2 separate regions of the Homo sapiens genome follow, and region 2 is linked to region 1. The links are contacts of gene promoters, found by promoter capture Hi-C in human tissues and cell types (Jung and others, 2019). All regions are on one chromosome and are shown on one strand. The core of a region is centred on a gene start or on the middle of the fragment in contact, and the rest is flanking DNA. Distances in the headings are between cores, read along the strand shown.

The links. Contacts are between HindIII fragments. The study calls those that stand out against the background at their distance.
Region 2: a fragment that was not itself captured here is called in contact with the fragment with the promoter of PSG9 in region 1 in 4 of the 25 tissues and cell types used here (heart left ventricle, mesendoderm cells, stomach and 1 more).

Annotation. Positions count from the first base shown.
Region 1 is chr19:43,267,916-43,273,163 of GRCh38, forward strand. It overlaps PSG9 (pregnancy specific beta-1-glycoprotein 9), which reads right to left and starts at 1,615. Exons shown (of 6, transcript NM_002784.5): 1 at 1,453-1,615; 2 at 1-234. The coding sequence starts at 1,516. The HindIII fragment of the contact is 8,927 bases long and covers 1-5,248 here.
Region 2 is chr19:42,669,245-42,674,726 of GRCh38, forward strand. It overlaps the pseudogene RPS10P28. Among named protein-coding and RNA genes, the nearest start is that of PSG3, 68 kb to the right of the region's middle. The HindIII fragment of the contact is 6,603 bases long and covers 1-5,332 here.

The DNA of each region.
Region 1 (5,248 bases), core at 365-2,864:
TTTCTCTTCCACTGTATGCAGGCCCATATATAATTATTTTACCATCAACTATATACGATATAATGTAATGGTAGAGGTCCGTCATTTCCCCTTTGTACCAGAAGTAGCCAGGAAGATTCTGGGGCAAATTGTGGACAAGTAGAAGAACATCCTTCCCCTCAGAAACTTTGGGTGGCTGGGCTTCAATCGTGACTTCGGCAGTGGTGGGCGGGTTCCAGAAGTTTAAAAGTGATGCTAGGAGGGGGAGACAGCATCAGTTAATATTGAGACCTATGTATTGTGGTGAAAAGATGGGGCCCTGGGTCCTGAGAAGGTCTCTTCCATCCTCAGCCTTGAAGATACACACACGCACACATACAAACAAACACACACAAAAAACGGGCATGTGTGTTTGTGTATGTGTATGTGTGTGTGTCCTACTGTCCTACTAGGTCAAGGTCAGCAGCATGACCCCCATTCCTTCAACACTTCTGACCTTGGCATTTTTCTGTTTGGAATCCTCTTCCCCAGGGGTCCACACGGCCCCCTCCACACTGCCCTCAGGTCCTGCTCACATCAGGGCATCCTTAGACTTCTTTCCTGACACCTCCTTCAGAGACCCTGGGTCTTCCCTTTCTGACCTTTCCCTGCTCTGCTCCCTCCAGGGTTCTTGTCAACACCTGATCTCACATTCTACATCTCTTCGCATGTCTGTCTTCCTCCCCATGACAGCGTGAGCTCCGTGAGGACAGGGACTTTTGTGATCCTGGTTGCACCCCAGTGCCTGGGACAGGCTGCAGACTCCTGTAGATGTGAGAGTTCTCAGGGCCCTCCATGCCCTGGGTGTTTTTTTTTCCCCCAATTGTTGAGGTTTTTTGCTGAGGATAGTGTTTCATGTCCTGCTTATATTTTTATTTGAAGTGTCATCTGATATAGTTATTATTATCATTTTTCAAAATGTGGTGGCCCCGGATGATTAATCAGGAAAACAGAACACTTAAGATTTTCCTACCTCTTACCAATTCCGGTTCAATGTGACTTTCCTCTTTTGACCCCTGTCCCTCTCTGGTGTATTTTCCCCTATCCAGGCTGCAACAGAGCCTTCTTTCCTTTTTTTCTTTTTTTTTTGAGACGGAGTCTCGTACTGTCGCCCAGGCTGGCGTGCAGTGGCGGTATCTCGGCTAGCTGCAACTTCTGCCTCCCGGGTTCACATGATTCTCCCACCTCAGCCTCCCGAGTAGCTAGGATTACAGGAGTACACCACCATACCTGGTTAATTTTTTATATTTTTAGGAGAGACTGGGCTTCACTGCATTGGCCGGACTGATCTTGAACTCCTGATCTCGTGATCCACCCACCTCAGCCTCCCTAAGAGCTGGCTTCTTTTATTTTACAACCCCATCCTCTCCAGGAGACCCCATCCAGTCACTCCGCTTCCTCCCCCTGTCCTCTCCCAGGAAGTTCTCTCCTCACCTGTGAGCAGGAGCCCCTTCCAGGTGATGCGCTGTGTGCAGGAAGGGGCTGGGAGGGGCCCCATGGTCTCTGCTGCCTGTGTGTTCTCCTCTGTGGAGATGAGCCTGGGATCCAGAAGCTGTCTGAGCACGGCTGTCAGCTGTGCTGTCCTTCCTCCTTCTGTGCTGAGCCTCTTCCCGGGGCAGGAGCACTTCTCAAGCTCATGGGCGGGGTCAGTCCCAGGACACCTCTCTGTCCCCTTCTCTCTCAGTCCTGCCTCCTTGTCCCTCCTTCTGTTTTTCCTTTTGTCTGTGTTTCAGGTCCCTGGGAGTTGTGGAGGCCTCTGCCTTTTTCAGCAGTGATTCTTTCACCAAACCTCAACACACACTTTGTGCAGACACACACACACACACACACACACACACACACACACAGAAGAGACACACACAGACCCACACAGTCAGGCACATACCCTGCAGGTTGGGCAAGCACAGTCCTGGGCCTCAGCCTCCTGCTGTCCCCATGGCTCTGGGTTGGGGTGCACATTCATGCCTTTTACCCTCTTTCATCCCCATCTGGCTCTCCCCTTCAGTGCAGGAGGCTGGAGATGCACCAGGTCCCTGTCACAGTGACACCCCATTGTGCTGTGGGTGAGCTGTGTGTTGCCTGGTGAGAGGGACCCTTCCTTTCTCTAATCGTGTCAAGCTTGACTGCAGCTTCCAAGGATGGACTTTCAGGACCTGGGTGTCCCAGAGGAAACTGTCCTTCCTGGAGGTGTGCAGGGTGAATCTCTCATGCCTCTTAGGAGGAGAGGCCTGTGCTGGTTGCTCAGTGGGGGCTGTGAGTCCCATAGTCAAAGGGACAGTTCTCTGTCAGTCTATGGCTCCCTGGGGTCTGGCGGCTGAGCTGGAGCTCAGGGTTTCTCATGTTCTCCCTGACCATCTTTGATGTCCTCTCTTCTCTGCCCAGCTGATTGTCCTGTGGTCACCACACCTTCCCCGTGGTGGTGCAGGAGGAAGTGGGGAGTTACCCAGGAACCCCGCGGGACATGGCTCATTGAGACGCAGGAGGGGGAGCCTGGGACAGAGCAGGGGTTCAGAGCTGGAGAGATTCATCCCGACTTACTCCGTGGCCATGATGGGCTCAGCCCTCCATGTGCTGACACACCCAGGGGTCTGTCCTGAGGGTTTTGACCTGGCCAAGCTGCTGTCTGTAGAGGAGGAACAGGCAGTGACCAGAGAGGCTCTCTGGAGGGACGTTGCTCACACCTGAGAGGGCGGGTGGGGGTGAGTTGTGTTCTGGGAGCAAAGAGCAATAACACCGCCCTTCTCCACGCAAGTACACAGGAGAGGTCTGTCTTCCCAAGGGACAGCTGGGGGTAGGTGGCCACATCCCGGATGGTACCTGTGAATGACCATCACACGCTCTCTGAGCCCCCTGGGGTGCAGGGGGCAGGCAGGTGACAGGGTGCCTGGCTGATTCCCGGGGAGGCTGTGGGCCCTCAGGCAGCCGCTGTTCTGTGTCGGCGCTAGGCTTGGCCTGGGAAGCCCCAGAGAACAGGACAGATGGAGCAGGGGCAGGCATTTAGGGAGCAGTGACAGAAAGAGTTGATGAGGATGGAGAGAGTTCACGAGGGGAAAGCGCCCAGTGTGGCGTCGCGTGCACCAGCGCTGCCCTGGGAGATGCCTTTAGCTGGGCCCAGGGAAGGAGCAGGTGTGTGGGGCAGGAGCTCCCTGCAGAGGGAGTGGTGTTAGGTTGGCGGCCGCCAGGTCAGGGAGGAACTGACAGAGTCCGTGTGGGGAGCATGGAGGGTGCTGAGGACTTGGGCCGAAGTGACCCTGGTGAGGGTGGACCCTGCTGGGCTGTGGGTTCCGCTGAGGGAGGTTGGCATCCCCTGGGAAGGCTCCAGGCTGGGAGGGACTCTGTCGCCCTCTGGTGGACAGGGAGGGAAGTGTGAACGGCAGCAATCCCAGGCCAGGCTGCATGTTTTATTCCACTTCACACGAGGTCACACATATGTTATGTTACAGCTCCTTCACCTTCCAGCCCCGTGAGTCCCAGTCTCTGTGGCTCTACGTTCACTGTTATCCCTCTTTCACAATCAGATGTCCCAAACGCAGATTTTTGTCACCTTCTGTGAGTTTGTGTTTGTGTGCAGTAGGCAACACTGTGAATACCCTGGGGGCAGTGATGCCTGGGGCTGAGCACTGCACATGGGTTTGAGAGCAGAAGAGGGAGCAGCAGGGTGGGAAGATCAACGTCAGGGGGGCAAGGACAAGTCATTTTCATTTTCTCACTCCCAGGGACCAGAACCCAGGATTCTGACTCCAGGGCACAGTACCACACCCTGCTGGTGTCCCTGGATGTCATGATGCTCATAGTGTCATGTTGCCTTGGCATTCATTTTTTAAGGTGTAAGTTTATTTGCCTCAAATCAGAGGCAGGGCTTGGTCACCATGGTAGTTTTCAATACTGTGTCTGGTTCAAGTGGCTCCAGTTGGTGTCCAGAGATAAAATCTTAGAGGCATCTCTCCTGCTTGGTGTGCTGGGCTCCCCTCTCTCAAGCTGCTTTCTTTAAACTGATAATTCTGACATTCGCCCTCACATTTAAAGTGACTACCTCTCAGTCACAGCGTGAGCTCCTGGTCCCAGTGTTTGCTGCTTGCTTTGAACACATCCATTAAAGCTCCCTGCTGGAAACCTGTCAGATAACACCCTGGACTTAATAAAGCCATTCGCTTACAGGTCTCTTCTCTCCTCCCTGCATGGGGTCACTGACCACTGTGTCTGTGGTCTCCAGGTGTGCCGAGTGCTCCCTAGTGTCTGGAAGTAGTAAAAATACTTACATTTTCACGTTGTGGTTGTATTGCTGTTGCCTCACATGCCATCCAGGGCCTGACATTGAGGCTGCCCTATGGGACCTGTGCTGGTTGAGCCCTTGCTGGAGCTCTTGTTTTGGGGCCTTTGATTCTCCTGGGGACAGGAGCTTCCAGCTAATTTGATTGAAATACTGATGTGTTTCATTGACACACTGGGTCAGATGATGTATTCATGGGCTTCAGCTGCCATAACAAACACCTTAGCTTGGGTGAACGATATAATAGAAATCTATTTTTCACAGTTCTGTGAATAATGTGCTATTTCAACCACTTTAAAATGCACAATCAAGTGAAATTAACCACATACACAGTGTTAAATTACCATCACCACTATTTTCCCTAGAAAATTTTTATCATTTTAAACTGAAACTTTGTATCTTTTAAACAATACCTCCTTGTATGTTCCACCCTAGACTTTGATCATCTCTACTCTGTCTCTATGAATTTGCCTATTCTTGATGTCTAATATAAATGGAATTATACACTTACGTTAATTTGTTTCTGACATATTTCACTTAGCATAATATTTCCAAAGTCCATGCATGTTCCAGTGGGTATCAGAGCTTCATTCCTCTTTATGGCAGATTAACATTCTGTTGTATGTGTCACCATATTTATTTATTGATGTGTTGAGGAGCACTTGGATTGTTTTCATATTTTATATTTTGTGAATAATGCTGCAATCAACATTCCCATGCAAGTACCTGTTTGAGTCCCTGGATTTAATTCTTTGGGTATATACCTAGGAATGGAAGTTGTTTCAAATGAGAATTCTATGATTAGCTTTTTGAGGAAAAGCAAAACTGTTTCTCCTTTTTATATTCTCACCAGCAATGTATGAAGATTCCAAATTCTACATAATACTGGTACTTGTTATTTAACATTTTAAAAGAATGGTAGCCAGTTTTGTAGGTGAGTTGTCGTGTCTCATTGATGCT
Region 2 (5,482 bases), core at 781-3,280, 600 kb before region 1:
GCAGGTCTCTTCTTCCCTGGTCTGCATGCTGCCTGTACCCCACTGTCTCTTAGATGTGATTATCCCCAGCCTCTGCTCATTTGTTTCCCAGATTCAATACACTATGAAAGTCTTTTGATCCTTTCTTAACATCTCTCACTTGTGTCATTCTCTCCATTCCCATAGACCTCAACAACTGCTTGAATTCCTGCTTGACTCCTTGTCTCCAGTATTTGAAATCTTCCTTGCATATGACTTCCTCATTACCTTCCTAAAATCTAGTTCACTCACCTACTCAAGAATCTACAGGGGCCGACTCTGGCCTATTAGATAAGTTTACATTTCTTCTCTTTACTAATCCTTCTTACTTCCTTTACCACCACTCCCTTATATAATTCCTCTATCCTAATTACATCTGTCTCCCTACATATGCCTGCCCACCCATGCCATATACACAAGGGATTATTAGTTCAAATTGTATGCCTAAAACAGGGTGACCGCCCTCCATCATCTGCACTGCAAAGTTACCCACAGCCTTCATCACAAGCAACCTCTGACCTCATGGAGAACAATGACTCTAGCATTAATGTGTGAATCTAAGACTTAGGACACAATATACATGTGGTTGGGAAGCTTTCCCTGATAACCAATTTATGTGTTCATGAAAAATACAGAAATGAAGAAGGCAAGGTCCCTACCCCAGGGATCATAAAGCCTAAGACACAAGATAGGACCTTAAAAGTAATTATAAACTCCGGCCCTGGACCCTACAGCCACCAAGATGTTAATGCCTAAGAAGAGTCGGATTGCCATTTATGAACTTTTTTTTTTTTTTTTTTTTTTTGAGACAGAGTCTGACTCTGTCGCCCAGGCTGGAGTGCAGTGGAGTGATCTGGGCTCACGGCAAGCTCCGCCTCCCAGGTTCACGCCATTCTCCCTCCTCAGCCTCCCGAGTAGCTGGGACTACAGGCGCCCGCCACCACGCTCGGCTAATTTTGTTTTTGTATTTTTAGTAGAGACGGGGTTTCACTGTGTTAGCCAGGATGATCTCGATCTCCTGACCTCGAGATCCACCTGCCTTGGCCTCCCAAAGTACTGGGATTACAGGTGTGAGCCACGGCGCCCAGCCATGAACTCCTTTTTAAGGAAGGAGTCACGGTGGCTAAGAAGGATGTCCACATGCCTAAGCACCCGGAGCTGGCAGACAAGAATGTGCCCAACCTTCATGTCATGAAGGCCATGCAGTCTCTCAAGTCCTGAGACTACGTGAAGGAACAGTTTGCCTGGAGACATTTCTACTGGTACCTTACCAATGAAGGCATCCAGTATCTCCGTGATTATCTTCATCTGCCCCTGGAGATTGTGCCTGCCACCCTACGCCACAACCGTCCAGAGACTGGCAGGCCTCCGCCTAAAGGTCTGGAGGGTGAGCCACCTGCAAGACTCAAAAGAGAGGAAACCGACAGAGATACCTACAGACGGAGTGCTGTGCCCCCTGGTGCCGACAAGAAAACCGAGGCTGGGGCCGGGTCAGCAACCAAATTCCAGTTTAGAGGCGGATTTGGATGTGGACGTGGTCAACCACCTCAGAAAAATTGGAGAGGATTATTTTGCATTGAATAAACCTACAGCCAAAAAGAAAAAAAAAGTAATTATAATACCAAAATAGAACAAAATGAATGCCACAAGAATTCAGATAAATCTGATGGGAAATACAGCCACACATTGGAATCACAGGGAAACATTTTTTAAAAATGGATGCTGAAGCCCTCACTCCCCATACCTTCTGATTTAGTGGTCTGGCGTGGGACCCAGGCATTGATAATTTTTAAGCTTCCCCAGATGCTACTAATGTGTAACCAGGATGGTGAACTCTCCTGTTTAAATAGGTAGGACGTAGGGCTAAATTAATGGTTTTTAGCTAGATGACCTAGGGAGGTTTTTCAACATACATAAGCCTATACTTTGTTGGCCATATTTGTTAATGGGCTACACCGAGAACTCAGTAATCCAGTTAAGAAACACAAGCTAAATGGAAAAGCCACTTTATTTGATATGTTAAATTATATGGGAAGCATTGTCAAATGATAAGTTTGTGAGGTCATCAACTTCTTGTCCTGGTTTGCAGTTAAGTGCCTCTAGTTATGGTGTCAAATATTTTGGTGAGCTCTGAGTGGCCCATACCTCAGACATGAAGGTTTTCCCATGAAATTTACATTGAGTTGTCCCCCTCCAGCTTATAGGGCTTCAGGAACACAGCAGATCTTGTTCTTACTGATTCCATAGGAGAAATTGGGTTGGAGAAACTAGAAGAATTCAGGGTCCAGTCCAGTCTACAGGTGGATTATAAAAACTCAAAAACAATGAACAGAGCTGAAATCTCATAAAAGTTGTGCTACAGTTTTTCTTCTCAACATAATTTTTCTCTCTATGGGCATCTCTATTTCTACCAAAGATAATACCACTAAGGCAAATTTGTTTGCAAAATAGATTGAGTCTCATCAAACTTGGCGTGTATTCTCAATGTTAATTTATGGGTATGTTACTGATATGAGTCTTCCAAAAATTATATGAGATTCATAGAAATCTAATATCAGTCATAATGTCATATGCCACAGAAGCAACTAGATTTCTATATGAGCCATGTCTTTATCTTAATGAACGCTCATCAGATTTTTAACCATAGTTATTTTAAATCTGTCATTCATAGACAGTTGTTTTGATTCTTCCTCAAAGTATTTCCAATCAGCTACAGTCCAAAATTGCTTCTTGCTTCAAGGAGATTTACAGAAAAGGCTCTGACAAGGATTCTTTAATACAAGTTTTTGATGAATTTAAGATACCACTGGACTGTCTAAGAACTTCCAAGTTCTTCTGATACCTTCATGAAATTGCCAGCCAAGACCAAGCAGGAAAAAACTCAATTTCATTGGACTAAATAATAATAATGATGAGAATGTTTTTATGATTTTTTGTTTGGAGTTTTGCTGATTCTTTAAGTGGTTTGTTTTCCAGATTTATGGAATTTTTTCTTTTAACCAATCTATAGCACACAGTAATTTGACAAAGTATACTTTTGTGAACAAAAATTGAAGCATTTACTTTTGCTCCCTACCTGACTGCCTTAGAATTGGGCAACTATTCATGAGTATTCATATGTTTATGGTAATACAGATATTTGCTTAAGTTCAATAAATATCTGCTCTCTTTATAACAGGATACATTTGAAAACATTGGTTATATTACCAAGGCTTTGACTGGGATATTACATTTGAAAATATAAATAGAATGAAACCACAGATACTGCAGGCAAGTGTAAAGTAAGCCTTGGTTTGGCTTCCTGGTCTCAAGAGGTTTTTGAAAGTTTAATCTGAGATTCCTTATAAAAAATATCCAGCAAAGCAAAGTTTAAGAAGAGCCTATGTGATCCATTACAACTCTTTCTGCACTTAATGTAAAGGCCAAGTTTGATGAGACTCAATCTATTTTGCAAACAAATTTGCCTTAGTGGTATTATCTTTGGTAGAAATAGAGATGCCCATAGAGAGAAAAATTATGTTGAGAAGAAAAACTGTAGCACAACTTTTATGAGATTTCAGCTCTGTTCATTGTTTTTGAGTTTTTATAATCCACCTGTAGACTGGACTGGACCCTGAATTCTTCTAGTTTCTCCAACCCAATTTCTCCTATGGAATCAGTAAGAACAAGATCTGCTGTGTTCCTGAAGCCCTATAAGCTGGAGGGGGACAACTCAATGTAAATTTCATGGGAAAACCTTCATGTCTGAGGTATGGGCCACTCAGAGCTCACCAAAATATTTGACACCATAACTAGAGGCACTTAACTGCAAACCAGGACAAGAAGTTGATGACCTCACACTGTGGACAGCTTTTCCCAAGATGTCAAAACAAGACTCCCCTTCCTGATGAGGCTCTTGCCCCTCTTAATTTGTCCTTGCTCATGTCTGCCTCTTTTTCTTGGTGAGATAATGCTGTCATTAGAATTTCACAAGAAGTATCTTCTGAGGGTAGCTTAACAGAGTGTTGAATCTGGGATGAATTCATTCCCTTATTTCCACATAACATAAGAGATCCTTTAGTCTACCCAATGGCTGACATTAGCAGCATCTTTTTTTTCCTTCAGCAATAACCACTTTTAATGATTTAGTGTATATTTTTATAATCATAAATTTTACTTGTTTGAACAGGTAATGCATTAACAGTACAAATTTCAACAGGTAGAAAAGCGTATACTGAAAGTGTCCCTCATAACACCTATCCCTCCTCCATCCTATCACCTGGTTTCCCTCTGCAGAGGCAACCAGGAATATCTGTTTCTTATGTCTTATCCAGACATATTCTATGTGTTAGGTTGGTGCAAAAGCAATTGCGGTTTTGCCCGTACTTTTAATGGCAAAAACCACAATTACTTTTGCACCAACCTAATATTTACAAGCACATTGGAAGGCAGCTATGCTCCCCACTATACCACCAACACATCTTATAAGCACATTGGTCTAGTCTTTCTTCTTTTTTTCAAAAGTAAATGGTAAACATTTGAGGCACACTGTTTGCATCTGGCTTCTTCATTTAACAATACATCTTGCAGGTCATTCCACATCAGGATATAAAAAATCTCTTAGTCTTTTAACAGCTGTATACTTGTCTTAGTCCATTTTATGTTGCTATAGCAAAATACCTGAGACTGGGTAGCTTATAAAGAAAACAGGTTTATATGGCTTATGATTCTGGTGGCTGTAAAGTTCAAAATTGGGCATCTGCCTCTGGTGAGAGCCTCAGGCTCATTAGCAGCATCTTTAACACAGCTGTTTTTTCAGATGTACAGTGGTCCCTTTTAGACTTTAGACCTTCAGACTCACCTGTTCTCACTCCCTGTTTAATTTAACCCAGCCATGGGATGCTAGTTAATAAATTGGCCACTACTAGCTGAACAGGAAGGAGTCTGTGCAGTTTCTGACACTTCTTGTTGCACATGGATAAATACGTCGGATATTATAGAGACTTAGTTGCAAAAATTAACAAATGTGCTGCTTGGTTAAAATGGCTAGGCTCTTCTGGCTCACTCTTTGATGTGTTCTATTTTAGTTGGTTTGCATCTTGCCTAAGGTGCATATTCCAAACTCTTGGTATTATCTTCCTGATAGTCATATTAGTAGTCTCCTGGTGTGTTGTATTCTGTTGTATTCTCCAAAAGTTTTTAAATGTTTGCATGCAGCCATCCATTGAATATCAAATAGTGTCTCTTTGGCTGGAGTTACAAAAACTCAAAGAAATGTGTGATCAGGAGGACATTATAACCTATGAATGATGGAAGCCCAAAATGATGGTGATAGAAAGGATTGCTAATGTCTTAAGTTCTGGTCCCTTAGTGAGGTCCTAGAGACTCCAAAACAGAGCCACTCATGCTAAATGCTACATACTCCGACTGAAATTTTAAGGAAGCAGACAGATTCCAAAACAGACCATTTTTTTTTCTGAGAACA